2 separate regions of the Homo sapiens genome follow, and region 1 is linked to region 2. Evidence: promoter capture Hi-C in 16 types of primary human blood cells and fetal thymus (Javierre and others, 2016). All regions are on one chromosome and are shown on one strand. Each heading gives the region's core, a stretch centred on a gene start or on the middle of the fragment in contact. The rest is flanking DNA. Distances are from core to core; before and after follow the strand shown.

Region 1 (2,700 bases), core at 44-2,543, 430 kb after region 2:
TTTTGAAAGTGGAAAAAGGGAGTAGAATGAGGATCCAACAACTCTTATAATTGTCCCTCTATTTTTCATTGTCATGTCTCGCACCGCCATGGTTCTTGTGGATTTGCAAGTGATTATCCACTCATCAGTGTTCCACTCAGTGATTTATAACCTCCTACACTCTGCAATCAGTTTTCTCGCCTCCATTTGCTTTCCAGCTTGCAAAATTTTGTTTGCATCTCTTGAGTGCTAATGTCTCTTCCTTTTGTTCTTGTGTCTTTATATATTTCCATCTTAGCTAGTAACATAATTACTCATTTTCTCACCTGCCAGAAATCAGTATTCACTCTAAATTCCTCTTCTCTCTCATCCTTCCACATCCAATTGTTCAGCAAGTCTGACTGTTATATTCTAAATTTATCCAGGATACATACTCACCAATACTACTTTAGATCTCTCACTTGAACCATTATACAAACTTCCTGGAGAGTAGCTTGCCTTCAATCCATCTTTTTGCACATCACTACGTGACTTTTTTTGCTGTGATGGAAAAGACGTCTATTCCTGTGATGGCAGGATCTTCTACCATTACTTGTCCTCTCTGACTCCTCTAGAGAGAATTAATTCTACCCTTCTCTGTGCAGCTTTGGTGTCTTATGTATATGGCTAATGTGGCACACATCATTCAGTTCCATATTGTTTATTTATTTTGCATTTGGCTCCCACTAGACCATGAGCTTCCTTAAGCCAGGTACTAATCATGACTAATTTAGGTTATTATCTCCAGACCCTAGCATAGTACCTAGTAAAAGGTAAATTGCTTACTTTAAGTAATAAATGAGTCACATGGCACATGTATACATATGTAACTAACCTGCACGTTATGCACATGTACCCTAAAACTTAAAGTATAATAAAAAGAAAGAGAAAAAAAAAAGAAAAAGAAAATGTGGTACATATATACCATGGAATACCATGCAGCCATAAAAAAGAATGGGGTAATGTCCTTTGCAGGGACATGGATGGAGCTGGAGGCCATTATCCTTAGTAAACTAATGTAGGAACAGAAAACTAAATACTGCATGTTCTCACTGAGAAGTGGGAGTTAAATGATGAGAACACATGGGCACACAGAGGGGAACAACACACTCTAGGGCCTATCAGAGGGTGAAGGGTGGAAGAGGTAGAGGATCAGGAAAAATAACTAATGGGTATAAGGGTTAAGACCTGGGTGATGAAATAATCTGTACAACAAAACCCCATGACACAAGTTTACCTATGTACCTGCACATGTACCCCTGAGGTTAAAATAAAAGTTAAAAAAAAAAGTAATAAATGAGTCATGAATCAATACATATGTGTATCTTTTATATCCATTTATATGTCTTTGGACTTACATGATGCATATATAGATGTTTCTATCTTTGTGTATGTGTACAGGTACATGTGTTGCTACAATCTGAGGTAAGTTCACCTTATGAAATTTTAGATAATAAAATTAATTTGAAGGAATGTGATTAGTCACTTTTGATTAAGTAAACTATCTTGAGAGATTCTTATACATGTGTTACTGATAAAACTTGAATGCTTCCTAAATATTATCAAAGATCTATGGTTTCTTTCAGATAGCTAAGAAGTTAAAATATAAGTCATATAACATAACCCATATTGTGATTAATTTTAATAAGTTCAAAATAGTAATGACAAAACAAAAACTCAGAGGTAGACTTGTAATCTGTTCACCGTCACTTACCATTCTGGAACTCTTCATTATTTTGCGTAGATCCAAATTTCCCTCCAGTATCATACCCCTGCCTAAAGAACTTCCTTTAATGTCTTGTATTTCAGGTTTGCTAAATGAGTTCTCTCAGACGTTGTTTGTCTAAAATAGATTTGATTTAATTTTCGAGATCATTTTAACCAGGTATTATATTCTGAGTTGATAATTTTTTGTCTTTCAATATTTTAAGGATATTGCTCTACTTTCTTTTTTCTTGCATTGTTTCTCATGAGAAGTTTATTGCCATTATCATCCTGTTCCTCTGTTTGTAAGGTTTCTTTTTTTCCTTTCGGTTACTGTCAAGGTTTATAACCTCCTACAATCTGTAATCAGGTTATTTCTCTGAGTTTGGATTTGTGATTTGTTGTTTGTTTTTTTTCCCATCAAATTTGGAAATTCTCAGCTATTATCTCTTCAAATTTCTCTTCTTTACTTCTTCTATAACTATATGTATATTAGACTCTTTGATGTTGTCCTACAGCTCTTGGTTGCTATATTCTGTTTATCTCCCTCATTCTTTTTTTTCATTTGTATTTCACTTTACATCATTTTTATCCACCTATCTTTAGGTTTGTTGACTCTTTCTACTGTATCCAATTTGCTGATAAGTCTGTGTATATGTTTATGCCTCTTGTCTTTTATTTCTTTATTTGCTTATTTTTATTTATGTATTTATTTATTTTTGAGACAGGTTCTCATTCTGTCATCCAGGCTGGAATGCAATGGCACCATCTCTGCTCACTGCAGCCTCTGCCTTCCAGGTTCAAGCGATCCTCCTGCCTCAGCCTCCCGAGTAGCGGGGACTACAGGTGCATGCCGCTATGCCCAGCTAGTGTTTATGCCTCTTGTCTATCCATTCCACTAGATCCCATAATACCACACTCATAATTATTTCAAAGTGAACTGCCTGATTATTCCAATATTTGGGTCACCTCTGGATC
Region 2 (2,982 bases), core at 154-2,653:
TTTCACAGCTCCCTTTTATGAGAAAGAAAGTGGGGGTGGGGGAGTTGGGAGGGAGACTAGAGCTATGCAGACGGGAATGCCAGGCTGGGAATACCAACAAACAGTGTGCTGCATGTCAGGCAAATTAAAACTTCTAGCCTGGAGGAGGCTGTAATCGTGTTTGCGGTTAGTCTGAAAACAAGCTACACTGAACTTCTATCTCCCAGGAAAACAGTCGAGTGTGGACTGAAGTCAAAAATGAGTATTTTTAGCAAGCATTCTCTCTCTTCCGTTTATTTTCTTCCTTCTTCTGTCTTTAGATATTAGAAACGCTAATTACATGAAGTATCATTATTATTCGAAGAAAGCACAGTTAGAAGGGTTAAAAATAAAAAGATGCCAAACCAACAGAAGCAGTACAATCCTAAGGAGGAATATATTTTAATTTTTCCCTGTACCCACGAGGTTCAGTTTGTGGGTCCAAGGGACCCAACCCCAATACCCAGTGAATGGTCATACCTGCAGGAAATATTTGGGCCAGTGTGGTGGCCCCCGCGGCTGTGGCCCCGTGGCCTGGCTCCTTGCCTTCCAGGGCAGGAGGGGACTCCGGGCTGCAGGCACAGGCTAAGGTCCGAGCTGAGGTACCAGGGAGCGGGGAGGGACAACAGCCCAAATAACAGCAGTCAGAAGGAGGAGGGAGTCCGGGAGCGGGAGAGAGACACAGAGACCCCGAGGGAGGCGTGAGGGGCGCAGAGCTGGTGGCCCGGGTCCGAGAGGTCGAGGGGCCGCGCGCGGGTGAGAACGAGCCCCGGCCCCCGCCCTCGGAACTGAGTCGATATTCCTTTTTTTGCTGTTTGAGTTTTCTCTTTAGAGTCGGACCCCGGTCCCAGCAGCAGTCTCAGAACAGAGGGGAGCCGAGGAGTCCCTGCCGGGAGGCCATCCCTCTGCGGGCCCCAGGGCGCCCCTGGGGGCGGCCAGGGCGGGCGCGGGGAGATGGGGAGGCGCCGAGCGGCCCTGGAGATGCCCGCGTCCCGGGGCGCCCGCAAACTTTCCCAGACACGGCGGGAGGCCCCACCCTGGAGAGGGGGGGTCCCAGGCCTCCCGTCTCTGTCCCCTGGGGCTGGTCACTCACCGGCAGCGCGGTTGGGGCTCCGATTCTGGCCGCAGCCAGCCACACCAGGAGGCGGAGGAAGAGGAGGGGGAGGAGGAGGGGGAGGAGGAGGGGGAGGAAGACCCGGGGCCGCCGAGTGGAGGGCGGGGAGGGGCGGCCGCGGCGCAGTGACTCCTCCCGCTCCCGCCCCCGCCCCCGCCCCTCCTCCCCTGCTGAGCCTCCCTTCTCTCTTCACGCCTTCTTTCTCACCCCGAATCCCCCAAAGTTTTTCTGGTGTCCGACGCTCCGTTCTCTTCCCTCCAGCGCATCTTCTGTCCCCGAGTCTCCAGCCTCCCAGAGGAGGGGAGAGCGCTCCCTCCTGCAAAAGTCGGGGGGCGGGGGCGGTAAGTCTATGAGTTACCTTTCGATGCCCTCTTGAAGCAGATAGCTTGGACCCGTGGAAGGTCTGAAGCCACCCAGCACCCCCAGACCTTGTCCTCACCTCTGGGTGGGGATGATGGAGGGCCTTTGCGGTCGTGCTTTCTAAGTTGCTTCATGGAGTTTTGTTTTGTTTTGTACCCCCCGCCTCACCCCACCCCCACCCCCCACCCCCCACCTTGTAATTAGGAGAACTAAAGAATTATATTTGAAAGGTAAAGATGAAGCCCCACCTTCCTGGGCGAATCAATCATAGCAGGAGGAAGGACACAAGATAGTTTAGTGAGGGCCAAGCTGTGGGGGTGGGGAGGAGGTAAACGCGTCCAGATGCCTCCTCTTTGCTGCCTCAAGAGTGCATGGAGAGGGAGAAGGGGCGTTGTCCTCCCAGGAGAGGCTGCAGGGTGTCTCGTAGTCCCTATTCCATCGCCTGCTGGCAAATGACTCCAGGCAAGTCACTTGGCATCTCAGCCTCTTCCTCAAGGGGGGCTGCCTCACTGGGAGCCAGTCAGAATGAAGGCACCCTCCCCACCCCTTTACCCTGGAGAGACACCAAAACCCAGGACGAGAGACTGAGCTGAGTTTGAACAGGCTCAGAGGGGAGAGAAGAGGGCATTTTAGGCCCCATGGCATGGTGCTTTGGAGGTTGGCAAGACTGGAAGGCTTAGGGTAAGTGGGCAATGTTTAGATGGGAAGGTGGAGCTGGGCATGAAGCAGAATACAGGAAATCTCTGAAAGTTTTCAAGCGAAGGTGTAGAGTAGGCACTCAGTGAATCCTTGAGGATTCAAAATGGCAAATAAGAAATATTGGTTTAACAGTCCTGTAGGATGGACCACCTAGGAAGAAAGGGGTTGCATCCAAAGAGAGGGGTTAGGAGGCCCCGGTGAGCATCTCAACTTGAAGTACTATGCTGGAAGGTGGAAAGGCAATGAATTATTTTTTAATCGTAAATTTCCTTGAGGAGCTGGGCTAACTCATAGGCAGTGCACCCAGGGTTGGTGAAAATCAGTGGACACTTCTTTGTATTTGCACAGCAGTGTAATTCTTTTTTAAATGTTCTGTCAGGTGTAGCCTTGTTTTTGACCTTGGAGTTCGCTGGTGAAATGGAAATATAGTCAGTACCCTATTTGACCTCCAGCCAGTGTTAAGAACCTGCCCTCGGGGCTTTGAGGAAGGAAACTGACGTTCCAGGAGGGCACTCCTCGAGCGCCTGAAATCACACAGCCAGGATCTATTTAGGATACTTTTATTCTCAGATAAAACTACTAATTGTGCTTATGCTTAATATATCCTAAACACAGAAAAAGGCACTGGTTTCTCCTCAGCTTCTCATTTCCTCCAGCTACCTTCCAGTAATGGTTAAGAGTTGAGGAAGGGCAACTTGCCTAGGGAAGAGGAGAGCCTAGGGAATAGGAAGTCAACTGACTGGCTGGTTAACTTGTCAGAGATTGTTCCATGGAAACAGACAGGTACTGGA

What was found. Contacts are between HindIII fragments. The CHiCAGO score rates a contact against its expected background, and 5 or more counts as called.
Region 1: a contact is called between a fragment that was not itself captured here and the fragment with the promoter of STON1-GTF2A1L in region 2, in 1 of 17 cell types (neutrophils). The highest score is 5.2, in neutrophils.

What each region holds. Positions count from the first base shown.
Region 1 is chr2:48,095,144-48,097,843 of GRCh38, reverse strand. No RefSeq gene overlaps it. Among named protein-coding and RNA genes, the nearest start is that of FBXO11, 190 kb to the right of the region's middle. The HindIII fragment of the contact is 6,013 bases long and covers 1-2,700 here.
Region 2 is chr2:48,528,346-48,531,327 of GRCh38, reverse strand. STON1-GTF2A1L (STON1-GTF2A1L readthrough) reads right to left here and starts at 1,403. Exons shown (of 11, transcript NM_001198593.2): 1 at 1,340-1,403. It overlaps STON1 (stonin 1), which reads right to left and starts at 1,174. Exons shown (of 4, transcript NM_006873.4): 1 at 1,112-1,174. RefSeq lists a silencer at 843-1,042 and an enhancer at 634-1,181. The HindIII fragment of the contact is 9,785 bases long and covers 1-2,982 here.